Regions from separate parts of the Homo sapiens genome. Here region 2 is linked to region 1. Evidence: promoter capture Hi-C in 16 types of primary human blood cells and fetal thymus (Javierre and others, 2016). All regions are on one chromosome and are shown on one strand. Each heading gives the region's core, a stretch centred on a gene start or on the middle of the fragment in contact. The rest is flanking DNA. Distances are from core to core; before and after follow the strand shown. Region 1 holds the start of CMSS1 (cms1 ribosomal small subunit homolog). Region 2 holds the start of ALCAM (activated leukocyte cell adhesion molecule).

Region 1 (6,702 bases), core at 1,185-3,684:
GAACCCAGGAGGTGGAGGTTGCAGTGAACTGAGATCGCACCACTGTACTCCAGACTGGGGGACAAGAGTGAGACTTCGTCTCAAAAAAAAAAAAAGGGTTAGTCTTATGGCTAGAAGGAATGTAAGAAGTAGAGCAATCTTAGGCACTCCAACACACTGTCTTCATGAGAATTCTGGCAACTTAGATGAAGGAGGCTGTAGCGATTTAAAGTTTTACTAGATTCAGTGTTTAAAACTGTTGGGGGCCAGGCACGGTGGCTCACGCCTGTAATCCCAGCACTTTGGGAGGCCGAGGTGGGCAGATCACGAGGTCAAGAGATCAAGACCAGCCTGGCCAACATGGTGAAACCCCGTCTCTACTAAAAATACAAAAATTAGCTGGGTGTGGTGGCGGGCACCTGTAATCCCAGTTACTTGGGAGGCTGAGGCAGGAGAATCGCTTGAACCCAGGAGGCAGAGGTTGCAGTGAGCCGAGATCGTGCCACTGCACTCCAGCCTGGGCGACAGAGGGAGACTCCGTGTCAAAAAAAAAAAAAAAGAAAAAAAAAACTGTTGGTTGGTAAAACCCTAAAAAAGATGATCTTTAAGGGCTCTTTACAGATTATGATACAAAGGCCCAGAGAAGTCACAAAGTAGTAGCGGGAAAAGCGTGACTTTCAAAATCAATCACACTTGACTAAACTCTTCCCAGACCTCTTCTTCAATGTGTGTTCCTAAGAACACGACTTAACTTTTTTCTGTTTCTTCACCTATACAAATGAAGAGAATACTTACCTTTTCGGGATGTTATGAAAGTTAAATCAATTCATATTTATGAAGACATTTGTCACATAATAGATACTCAATACATGTTGACTGCCTTTCTTCCAACGGATGAATAACTTGAAAGTCACACAGCTAGTGAGGACTAGAACCAAGAATTGGGATCCCCTTCACCACTCAAACAGAATTCAACTATTTCTTAAATGGCCTCTGTTCATCTTCAATCATATCATAAAATAGAGCTTTTTAACACCTGAGTTGGGAGGGGTAGTTATTAAAGTAAATGTGGAACACCACAGGGCTGCAAAAGAGTCAGGAAGTTTAATCAAGGAAATGTTGTATTGGCTACCTTTCTAAAAATGACATCTGCTTAGTTTGTACCTGAAGGCTTGACCTTCCGGAAACAATGCAACAAATGAAGTTGGTTATTTTTAATGGATATTTCACAACTAGTATTTCAAGATTGTTTGCAGCAAATAGGTATCAAGTGTCTAACATGTGCAGGGCCCTGTGGATGACAGAAGTATGAATCTGACTTTGGCCCTGTCTTCTCTTGTAGAGAAAAGAGGCAGACCTTGAGGAGTGATAAAAACCAACCAACCAATAATTGCATGGTAGGTGTGATGGAACTTAAAAAGTTCAAGGCTAGCCTGACATGGGGGGTCACTTAACGCTACTCTACTTGGGGATGAAATGCCCACTGCATCAGGAGTTGGTAAACACAGCAGAGCATAGTAGAAACTATTCAAATTGTGTTAACTGAATTCTAGTATTGTTTCTGAAAGGAGCTAGCTTTGTGAACTTGTCAAGTTACTTGACATCTTTAGGTTATGTTTCTCATCTGTAAAATAAGTGAGTTCAAAGGATGATCTCTATTTAAGCCTCCTTCCAGTTCTACTATTCCAAATTCCATGATAATGATGATGACCACAAGAAATACAGTAACTTATATTTACCACACATTATATGTCAAGCACTATGCTAAAGTGCATTACTGTACTAACTTCACTTAATCTTCACAACTTTACGAAATGGACATTATTGTTATCATTATTTTACAGATGAGGAAAAGGAGGCTAAACAGTATCAGAATACTGGAGTCGTGATTTGAATGGAGGGAGTCTGAAGCAGCAACCCCTGCTTCTGACCTCAGTCTGAATTGAAAGCAGTTCATGGGTCACCCTTAACCATCATACAAAGTTGCCTCTCTTCACAAAAACTGTCTTATCCATTCTCAAGAAATAAGGAAAAGAGAAAGCTTGTGGAAAGGATCCTTCCTGGCTGGCAGACAGATCTGAGTTAATGTCACAGCTGTCTGTTTCACGTGTTAAAGAATCTCTTGCACCATTTTCCCCGAGATGCTTGCGCGCTCCCAAGGCGGTGCACACCCCTGCTGGGCAAACACCGCGATCGCCAGAAGCGACCAGGGCTGAGGCGCACGGAAGGGCTCCGGGAGAGGCCCCGTAGGAGCGCGGGCACAGAGTGGGTACCTGGGCTGCTGCCTGCTCCAGTCGGCTGGTTCTCCCACCACTCGTCTCCGAGATCGTCTGCCATTTCAGCTCAGGTCTCGACGTGGGCAGAACATCACGGGTAGGCGACCAGCTGCGGAGAATCACGTTGTCTCAAAGCCAGGCGGCCGGCGTAGCTACACGCGGAGCTCCCGCTAGACACTGTCGCCTCCGCCCCGCGGCGATGACGTCACACCTCTGCCCCGCCTCTCCGGCAGCCGCTCCCAGACTCGTCGCAGTTTCCACACAGGCGCCGACAGGCAGAAGCAGTTTGGAAACGCAACATAAATCCCCCCAAAGCTTAAAGACAAAAAGGAACATAAGACGAAAGGGATTGTCATCGTTTTTGATAATGCATTTTAAAAAATTTTGTTTACGTGTTACGTTTCCCGATAAGATTGTGTCGAAAGTGTGAGACACCATGTGAAGACGATTTTTCTCCGCTCAGTTTCAAAGAACTTGCGCAGCGGGAGAAGACCCAAACATGTGCGTGTGTTTTCGCTTGTGCGTCAGTGTTTCAGAGTTTATGTGTTTGTACAGTTTGCTCTTAGAAAACATGCGCAAGGATCCATGACCATGAATGTCGGGCCTTTGTGGTAAATGTAGTTCTGCTATTTATGCAATATGAGTAAAGAAAATGTAATTGGCCTGGAAAGGCTCGCCCACAGAAAGACGCAAGTGGCTCGAAGACCCGCAAGTTGTTTTCCTCATACTCCCTCGGTTGTGTGTCCCACCCCCTATTTGGGAAACGAAGTAATAAGGGAGTCCATTGCTTCGTAACTATAGGTAAGAGACCCGCAGTGCCTCTTGTCTCAGTCCCAACGTGATTTGGCAGGGAGGGACTAGGAAAACCCGCTGGGCGCCAAGTGCTGGGGCTAGCTGTGAAGTAATTGTGGACGGTATTTTTCAGGACATCAAACACAGACGTAAAAATTATACAAAATGTAGTAAAAGCACGCAACGTGCCTGGTACTATGCATGGAATAGTAAGATGAGTCCATTCAGATGTTAGCCTACAGTAGTGGAAATTCAATTTGTAGGAATAAAGGGCTAGACTTCTAATAGGATACATCCTCGGAAATGACAAGACAGGGAAACTTAATCTGATGAGGCTAGGATTAGCCATATGTGGAAAATTACCCCGTGTGCACCCAACTCATAGATGTTTTATAAATGCATTACTGCCTAGACTTTGTCCGCACACTCTAAATGCCCCAAAAGGGAAGATATTATGTATAAATATGGCAAATGTAAAATAATCTATAAAGATCAAAAGTAATATGGCTTTTGTGAAGAAATGTAGATGACGAGATTTTCGTGATTAATAGATTTTTGAAAAAGATAAGAAATGCCAGTGTGGAAGAGGAGTTGCTATGGCTAATAAACATGAAAAGAATTCAGTCTGATTATTAATCTGGGAAATACAAAAAAAACACCACAGCGAGACCGTTTTTCAGGCAATAAATCACAAAATTAAGAAGTATGGGCCGGGCGCGGTGGCTCAAGCCTGTAATCCCAACGCTTTGGGAGGCCGAGGTGGGTGAATCACCTGAGGTCAAGAATTCCAGACCAGCCTGGCCAAAATGGCGAAACCCATCTCTACTAAAAATACAAAAATTAGCCGGGCATGGTGGCAGGCGCCTGTAATTCCAGCTACTTGAGAGTCTGAGGTAGGCGAATTGCTTAAACCCGGGAAGTGGAGGTTGCGGTGAGCCGAGATGGTGCCATTACACTCCAGCCTGGTTGACAAAAGCGAAACTCGGTCTCAAAAAAAAAAAAAAAAAAAAAAAAAAGAAGTCTGGCAATACTAAATTATGGAGTGTCTATGCATTAATGGGAATTGATACCTGTTTTGTACCATGAACTATGAATGGTCTTACATTATATTCCACCTCGCCTCAGCCTCCCGAGTAGCTGGGACTACAGGCACATGCCACCATTCTTGGTTATTTTGTTGTTGTTTTTGTTTTTTGTAGATATGGCGTCTCATTTTGCTGCCCAGGCTGGTCTTTAACACCTGGCTTCAAGCAGTCCTCCCACTCCAGCCTGCCAAAGTGTTGGTATTAGAGGCCTAAGCCACTGTGTCCAGCCATTTTTTACATTTTTAAAGCATTGTAAGAAACAGAACAAAACAACAACGACAACAACAAAAACGTAAAGAAAAATATGCAGCAGAGACTGTAGCCCTCATATATTTACTATTTATTACTATTCCCTCATATATTTGCTCTAACTTTACAGAAAAAAGTTTACTGACCCCAGATTATATTGAATAGCCAACCTAAGTTGTAGCATCCATTTCTGTTCTGTTTGTTCTGTTATTAGTGAATTGGTTATTAGTGAATAGGCATCCTGGTTTATAAATCAGTGTATTGTAAAACCGTACTCTCCAGTATCTGATCATATCATCTAACACAGGGAAGCTCAGGCTGAAATAACTATTAGGTCTTTTTCTGCTCCCTCTTACTGTTCAGTATCTGAATGAGTATTATTAGAGTTTAAAGGAGGAAGCATTCATTTCCCAATGGGGCGAACTGGGAGGTAGCACTTGACAATGGATGTCTGTCGGCAAAAATGGATAGGGTAAATGATAGTTCCTTGGCAGAAAGATTGCAATGTTGCTTTGAATAAGTTATTAAACTTTGCTGGGCATTTCTTTGTGAGTCTGTAAAATAAAGGGGAGCAATTTCATGATTCCTGTGGTCTCTTCCAACTCCATGCCTTAATCTTGAGTATCAGACCAAGAATTCTGGATTTTTGTCGTTGTTATTAGAGGCAAAGGACATGATGGAAGTATTGTTTTAGGAAAGCTAAATTGGTATTACTGTGCAGGATGAATAATGGATTTGAGCAGAGCTTCCCACCTGGCATGGGTGGGCTGAAGACTGACCCCTGCAGTCTTTGGAGGAAGCAGTGACCTTGGGGCAGTTGCCTCAGGTTGAGGGTATCATCATCTTTTCACTCTAGTGTTGTACAGATATTACCATTTTCTATGGATGCCATGATGTGAAAGGTTGGCAAAAACTGAATTAGTAAGAGAGCGATAAAGTTTGAAGGCTGTTTCGTGAATGCTCACCACACAATGAAAAGGTCTTAATCAGTGCAGAGGTTCTTAGTCAATAAGCCCAGCCTATAAGTGTACTTCAGGAACCATCATAATGCATTCAAACTTTTGCATCATGTAGACAATAATGGTAGTAACAATATCAACAATAGCATGTTGTATGTACCTCTCTATGCCTCTTATATCTTAATTCATTTAATCATAACTCCATGAGATACTGTGCTGGGACTAGGGTGAGGCAAGCAGAGACCTAGGATACCAGATTTAAGGAGGCAGTCACTCTCAGGCTGACACTGACACCGACCTGAGAATGCTTGTCTCACTTGAGTCCTGACGCTGGTCCCTTTACTGAAGGCCACAGCTCTAGTTCAGCAGCTCTCCTCAATTCTTTCTTCTGAGTCTAGTAACTTGCCTTTGTCTCTTCAGACTTAGGAGTGGTAACTGCTCCCCACCATTACTAGTCCTGGGGTTCTACACCACGTTTCATTTCCCTAACCTGACCTCATGTTCAGAAATACTCCCCTTACTAAATTATTTTCAGTTTTCCAGCTTAAATGGGTCATCTTTTGCATGGTAGGACCCCAACTGATAAAATCAACTGCCTACTTAGGGTTCCCCTCAAAGCAGAGCCTGTGACAAAGGCTTGGGTGCAAATAGTTTATTTGGGAGGTGATACCAGGATGCAGGAATAAAGGCAGAGAGAATGAGACAAAGAAGGAGGATTGATATTAAACTGGTTTTGATGTAGACAATGACTGGCTCTTTATCCTCTTGAAGACCCTCTGAAAAAAATAGGATATACCCCAGAATTAGCCTCACAAAGTGATACAGGAGTTAAGAAGAAATTACTTAGACACATAGTAAGGGTATGGGAGTCCTCAGTAAGGCTTTTCTTTTTAATGAAAAGCAGCCCCAAATAATTTTCTAACAAAGAGCAGCCTGCAAGCTGGGAGCTTACACGAATGAATGCTGGCAGGAACTAAGGACTAGACATGTTCAAATGGCGCCTCCGTTTTCCCTTCTCTGCCAGCCACGTGTACTGCAAGGAGCAGGCAAGATGGCACTGATCAACTGGAAAGTCCATTTGCATAATAAGATTAGGGTGGAGTGACCAGCCTTCCCCGTGTGCTATGAAAACATCATACCTGGTCGAACCAATCTGTGAGCCCTATGTAAATCAGACACCACCTCCTCAAACTGGACTAGAAAATTCGGCACTTTCCGCCACCAGCCAGTCTTTTCTGCTTGGAGACCCCTTTCTCTATATAAAGAAGAGACCTCTTTTTCTTCTCTTCTGCCTGTTAAATGTACGCTCCTAAACTCCTCGTGTGTGCCCAGGTCCTAAATTTTTCTGGTGCACAACGATGA
Region 2 (6,051 bases), core at 733-3,232, 5.5 Mb before region 1:
AGATTTGTCAGAGAACGCAGACGCCTTTTTTTTCCCTCAGCCTCAGAAACATCAGGTGAGCTCATTACCTCACCCAGAAATGTAACTTTAATAAAGAGATCTGGAGAGGGCACTCCTCCCGCCCACACACACAGCAACGGCAGCAGCAGCAGCAGCTCGCAAACACTTGTAATCTCTTCCTCAGGCTCTGGCCCCCAAACCCCTCTCCCCGCCAGTTCCTGGGAGAGATTCAGAGGCTTTCAAACCTCTTCTGTGACCTGAGCTTGCCGACAGCTGAAGGGATGTGCACGGATAAAAGGAAGTGAGATTTTTCTTTGATAAAAGCTAAAGAAAAAGCTAAGAACAAACAGGCCAAAATACCAGGAAGTAGGAGTTTAACTGGCAACTGTCTACGCAGGGATAGAAAAAAAAAACTTCAAAGAAAAAAAAATCCCCTAAATTTTCAGTTTAGGGGAGCAAAGGAACCTGCTGCTCTGTCAGGCAACTGTGAGCGCACGGAATACCCTGTTAGAACAACTTGTGTCAGCCGCCAGGCGGGCCTGAGGATACCAGGGCCAGGGGACGTCCCCGAGGGTGTGGAAAGGGATTTCCCGAGAGATATTTTAGTTGTTGGGAATTTTGCCTTTTCTCTCTCTCTCTCTCTCTCTCTCTCTCTCTCTCTCTCTCTTCCAAGACTCAGTACAGAACTGAGAACTGAGGCTCTATGAGCAGGTCCTGGAAATTCACAAACCTCTCACTGAGGTGTCTCCCAGGCCTACCTACTAATTCCTGTTCTGGCTGTGTTATCTGCCTGCGGTCACCCTTTCACTCACCACCCGCCCAGACAATGGACGGGGACCGCAGGGGGTAACGTTGAAACCACGATTTTAAGCTTTAGCAGGTTTCGCAAGGGGGGCGGGGGGAGGTGATTAAAGTCCTCTCCTTCTCTACCCCTCCCATCCCTTCCTCGGCTCACCAAGGGGAAGTTACTAGGGGATTTATCACGAAAAAGTGCCGGCAGTTATTTCATCCGAGAACTAAGCGAAAGAAAAACTGCTCGGGGCGCAGTGACGTGGACTTGGATACCCAGAGACAGGAGGAACTGTCAGAGGGCAAGAGTCCGCCGCCTAGCTGGGAGCCGCAGGGACAAGGGGAGAGCGTCAGGCGAATCCTGCCCACCCCGGAGCACCAAGTTCCTGGAGATTCACCCAGTTTCCCCAGCTTGATGCCCAAACTTGAGCTAACCAGCCAAGCCCAAACGTGCGGCACAGGTGACCGAGCCCGGGGACAGCTCTGTGCCAGGACAGCGGTCCCCTTACCTCCACCACGCGCCTGGGCGCACTGCCTCGGGGGTGCGAGGCTGGGACGGGGACCTAGGAAACTGCTCCAGGCCCACGTCTGTCTGGGGCTGCTCCCAGGCCCTTGCTCACCTGGCCTGAAGACGGTGGCGGAGATCAAGAGGCAGAAGAGCAGACGGCAGGAACTGGCCCCCTTGGATTCCATATTCCTCCTCCTTCTTGGTGGGCCACTGACGGAGTCCACGCCGCAGGAGGGGGCGTCGTCCCGGGCCCCGCGGTGCCCGCGCGCTGGCGGGTCCCGACGCAGGGGCAGCGTCTTCTCCCAGACACACCGTCCCCTGGGCTGTGGCGCTGCACCTTCGGTTCTCTGCCGCACGCAACTTTCCACCACGCAATGCCCCCAACTCCTCCTCCCTCCCGGTCAACACCAGCCCACGGGCCCTTCGGCTGCTCCTCCGGGGACAACGACCCTCTGTTTCCAGGAGACACTTGAGTAATTCGGAAAGGTGTAAGCGGTTCTTTTCGCTGGTATCTTCTTTTATTTTCCTTGTATTGGAATGATAATAATAATGGCAGTGGCAATGTGCATGAAACGCCAGGTGCTAAGAAGGACTCGCAGGAGGCGGCGACGGGGGGGCGGCGGGTCTCCTCAGGTGGCAGCGGTGGTAGCAGCGGCAGCGGCGGCAGCGGTCTCCGGGCTGCTCTGAGTAGAGGGACTGGAAGGCGTGTGTAAGCTGCCTCTTTCCTCCTCTCCCCGCCTCCTCCCTCCCTCCCGTCTCCTCCCCACTTCCCCGGACGCAGCGCAAAGCAGGTGGTTGAAGCGCGGATCCGCAGCCTAGAGGCGCTGCAGGACTGAGTCCGAGCCCTGAGCCCAGCTCCGGGATCAGGGAGAACCGCGTGCCCCGGTCCTGGAGCCCGGATGAGCGGTGCTTCACCGCGGCTCCGCCCCCAGGGCCAGGTCCGCCAATAAGAAGCAAGCACAGGAGCCGCGCGCGCCAGGGAGAGCCCTGGGACTAACACTTTCTGTGATGTTGCAGCGCCCCAGTGATAAGGCCTCTGGCTTCCAACTGCCCACCCACCCTCGCTGAGGTTTAAAAATCGACTGCCCTCTCCCTCCACCCATACGCCCATCCCACTGACTCATTCCTCAGAGATTTTTCTCCGCCGTGCTGCTGCAGCCTTCTGTCCTGTAAAGAGAATAGTGGGGCAGGGCGGTGGCGGTGGGGAGCGAACCTTGGGTCCAAGAGCGGGAGTGAAGGGAAAAGGAAAGGAAAGGGCAGGAGGAAGTGGCAAAGGTGGAAACTTGCTTCTTGGGAGTTAACAGGAATAGCTACTTGTTGGCAGGGGCAACCCCTGTACTGGACTGATTCCTCCTGTACTTTTCGAATCTCTCTCCTCCCCCTGCTCACCCCCACCACTCCCCTCACACCCGGCTGGCATAGACTTGGTTTTAAAGGAAGACTACGTGAGTCGACTGCCCGGTACCAACAGAAGATATTTGCTTTTCCCGGGGGAAATTAAATCCGGAATTTCTAAACCGTACTTCGTCATACGGATTTTCCCAATGTCTACAAAAGCCCTCTAGAGAGCGTGTCACTTTTTTACTTTGAGTTAAGCGGTGATTTTAAGTTATAGACAGAAAATCCTCAAATTATTTCAGATTAAAAGCCAAGTCCGTCTTGGTCCGTTCCCGAAAGCCAGGCACTCCAGCAGATGGACAGGCTTCTTAGGCAATTTCTAAAGATTGAACCACCTCCCAGGAGGAACATCGGGAAGCTGTGTTGCTTTCAAATCAGGCAGAGAGCATGAAGGAAGATTTTCCTCTAGAACACCGGGGTGGAGCTGTCGGAGCCCTAAGTGGCTCTAAATCAGGGATGCAGGATCACAACTCTCATCACCAAAGAATAATAAAATCTTGGTCCCTGAAGCACTTCGCTGGGGCATTAAATAGCCTTTCGTGCATCACAGGGTCACCCTTTTGTGAGACTGGTCTCCAGCAGAGGATGCCAACTAGTAATCGTTACATACTGCACTTTCATCAGAAAACTGCGAGTTACCAGCGAGATTGGAGACTCGCAACACACAGACACACACACACACACACACACTCACACACTGATTTTTAAAATTGTTTATCTTTTAGTGCTCTAAACTATTAAGCCCTATCTTCAGCTGTGATTTTTCTCAAAAGCCTGCTTGTCCTGTTCTTCCAGTTCTCCTTACATTAACAATATTCTAGAGTAGAGCTTTTATACCATATTTTTTTCCTCTCAAAATAAGTAGTTTCTCCCACTTGGTTTAAACATTAACATTTCATTTGCATCTTATGAATCAACAGGAAGGCTATCGCTAGGAGGCAAATGCCTTTTAACTCTATATTCCTTGAGCTAAGCTTGGCTGAAATGCTAGCATTTCCATGGACTCCTGTAGAATTGCTTTAGGGAATTGTTTTCTTTTTCACTGTGGTTGTAAGTGGGGTGTATTAGAATAAATCGACCTGACAATATATTTAACCTAGGTCCGCGAACGCTCTATCTGATCTCCTCTATTTTACGATGGGAGTTAATACAGCATAATTGCTTAAAGGTAGATTTGCAAAAGGAAGACTGATTTGGGCTCTGACACTAACTGTATGATCTTGGTCAACTCACTTAACCTCTTTAAGCTTCAGTCTCCTTTCTTGTAAAAAGTGATAATAGTGCTAGCCTCATGGGATTGCTGTGAAGATCAAATGAGATCAAACACACAAACACACACGTGGAATTCTGGGAGCAACTGACTATACAAATATGTACATATTATACTTATACACAAACACATGCATATATATATGGGCATATGTATAATATATATTTGAATGTGTAGTCCACTGCTTCCAGAATTGTTTTTAGAAAGGAATGTGTCCTAGTTTAGGAAAATGCCTTGATAAGCCACTTGGACTAGTAACTCCAAAGGCTATTGGTCATTAAAAAAAAATGGTGAAACGGCTCTATATTAAACAAAATAATAACCATGAAAATAGAAATTTGGCCTGGGAGTGGGGACGAAGGCAACAATACAAAGCATGAGTTTAGAAATGTTCAAAGGTCTTTAGATCTATTAATTAGCAACACTTACATGTTAGAATATTCTAAGCAATTTATATGAATTAATAGATGTATTCCCCTCATAAAAATTTATTGAAGGAGTTGCTATTTTCATCCTCATTTTACTCATGAAGAAACTGAAACCCAGAGACTCGAAGCAACTTTTCCAAGGTCACACAATGATTCATAGCAATGGTAAAGCCAGGGTTCTACCCAGGCATTCTGATTCTTGAACTGAATTCCTATCTACTTTGCTCATCACTATCCACTTTGCTTATCAAGAATGCGTAGCAATAAATGTATGGTTTTTTTGGTGGGGCGATTGATTTAAACATAAGTTCTCTCATCCTTTCACACACATTTTCATTAAGGAAATTTATTAATAAAGCAGCGCACCCTATCTGCGTAGGCCAGATACAGTGCATATGAGATGACAAGACCACTTCTAAACTGAAATAATGTAGCATAAGCAAGAGCTCAGAGTTAGAAATAAACATAAAAATGTAAGCTCCACAAAGTAATGTAATCGAATTAATCTTTCAAAATCTAGTCAATGTGGGATTGGATCCATCTTACCTAATTCTTGAGAGGAAGAGTGTTTCCAGCTACATGTAGATCACAGTCACTTTTGTTACAATTGAGAATACATAGTATTCCAATAATATTTATTGTATAGTTTAGTCATGCATCAGAGAATCATAAGGGTACATCTTGCTGAAAGGGAAAAATGAATAACATTTATCCAGGGGGAAAAAATTTCACGTTACCTGGGACATGAGAAGAGCTTTGTATTTTAAGTATAAAGGAATTCATCATCAATCAGGATGATATGCTCAAAAGCAGTGACATGGTACCGGAGGCAAGTTTCCTACTTACGGTCTGTTGAGATAAGGACTCAGGATTCCCAAGGCTCAGGCCAGGACCCCTTCCCTGTACTAAAATATTAATCCCATCAGTATGTGACAACATAGCCGAGTCAATTGTGTGTGCCTTTGAAGAATGGAAGTAGTTTTTCTCCCCTGATTAGCACCGCCAAAATTTCCACTGGAGATGAAATTTCAACAAAGATAGTTTTGGAAGCTGAGAACATTTGTTCCTACCACTGTATACCATTGTGTTTTGTTTGCCTTCCTACTCCTTGAACAAAATTGTATGCAGTTCCAGAGCATGCAACAAATCTGATTCACTCTTCTCTCCTTCAAGCGTCACCTACGGTGAATGCATGTTCAGCCATACTTAAAAATAGATTGGACACTTGATAAATTTTTGTGAATGGATGATAAGTGGTGAGAAAAATACCTAATGGAATATAAGCCTTCAAACCATCTTACAAGGGTTCATGATATGAGAAGATGAAAGGGGTTTCCATTGGGTCTTCAATGATTGGTCTAGGCAGACTAAGGTTTAGGAAAGGCAAAAAGAATGAGTCAAGTCCTAGTCAACAAGGTGATAACTATGAAGTATAAAGTGAGGAAACAATCTACAGAAGAAAGGCTGTACTAAAATTATATGCCATCAATTAGAATAAAACAAAGTGGCCCATGCTGAGCACAGAAACCTGATTAGTAAAGGTTCTAGGTGATCAAGCTAGGGCTTAGGCTAATATACTGATGACAAAGATTGAAATAAGGGCCTAAGTGGGATTTATATTAAGTCTAGGAAGAAACACAATCTTAAAGAGGCACAGA

Evidence for each region. Contacts are between HindIII fragments. The CHiCAGO score rates a contact against its expected background, and 5 or more counts as called.
Region 2: a contact is called between the fragment with the promoter of ALCAM here and the fragment with the promoter of CMSS1 in region 1, in 1 of 17 cell types (naive CD4 T cells). The highest score is 5.2, in naive CD4 T cells.

The regions. Positions count from the first base shown.
Region 1 is chr3:99,813,594-99,820,295 of GRCh38, reverse strand. CMSS1 (cms1 ribosomal small subunit homolog) reads right to left here and starts at 2,434. Exons shown (of 10, transcript NM_032359.4): 1 at 2,253-2,434. The coding sequence starts at 2,316. It overlaps HP09053 (a long non-coding RNA gene), which reads left to right. Exons shown (of 3, transcript NR_110821.1): 2 at 1,322-1,376; 3 at 1,824-3,664. It overlaps LOC105374010 (a long non-coding RNA gene), which reads right to left and starts at 2,434. Exons shown (of 5, transcript NR_189163.1): 1 at 2,253-2,434. RefSeq lists enhancers at 2,168-2,477, 1,709-2,583 and a silencer at 1,999-2,753. The HindIII fragment of the contact is 550 bases long and covers 2,023-2,572 here.
Region 2 is chr3:105,362,840-105,368,890 of GRCh38, reverse strand. ALCAM (activated leukocyte cell adhesion molecule) reads right to left here and starts at 1,982. Exons shown (of 16, transcript NM_001627.4): 1 at 1,410-1,982. The coding sequence starts at 1,482. RefSeq lists an enhancer at 298-457 and silencers at 1,488-1,607, 1,938-2,037. The HindIII fragment of the contact is 2,798 bases long and covers 874-3,671 here.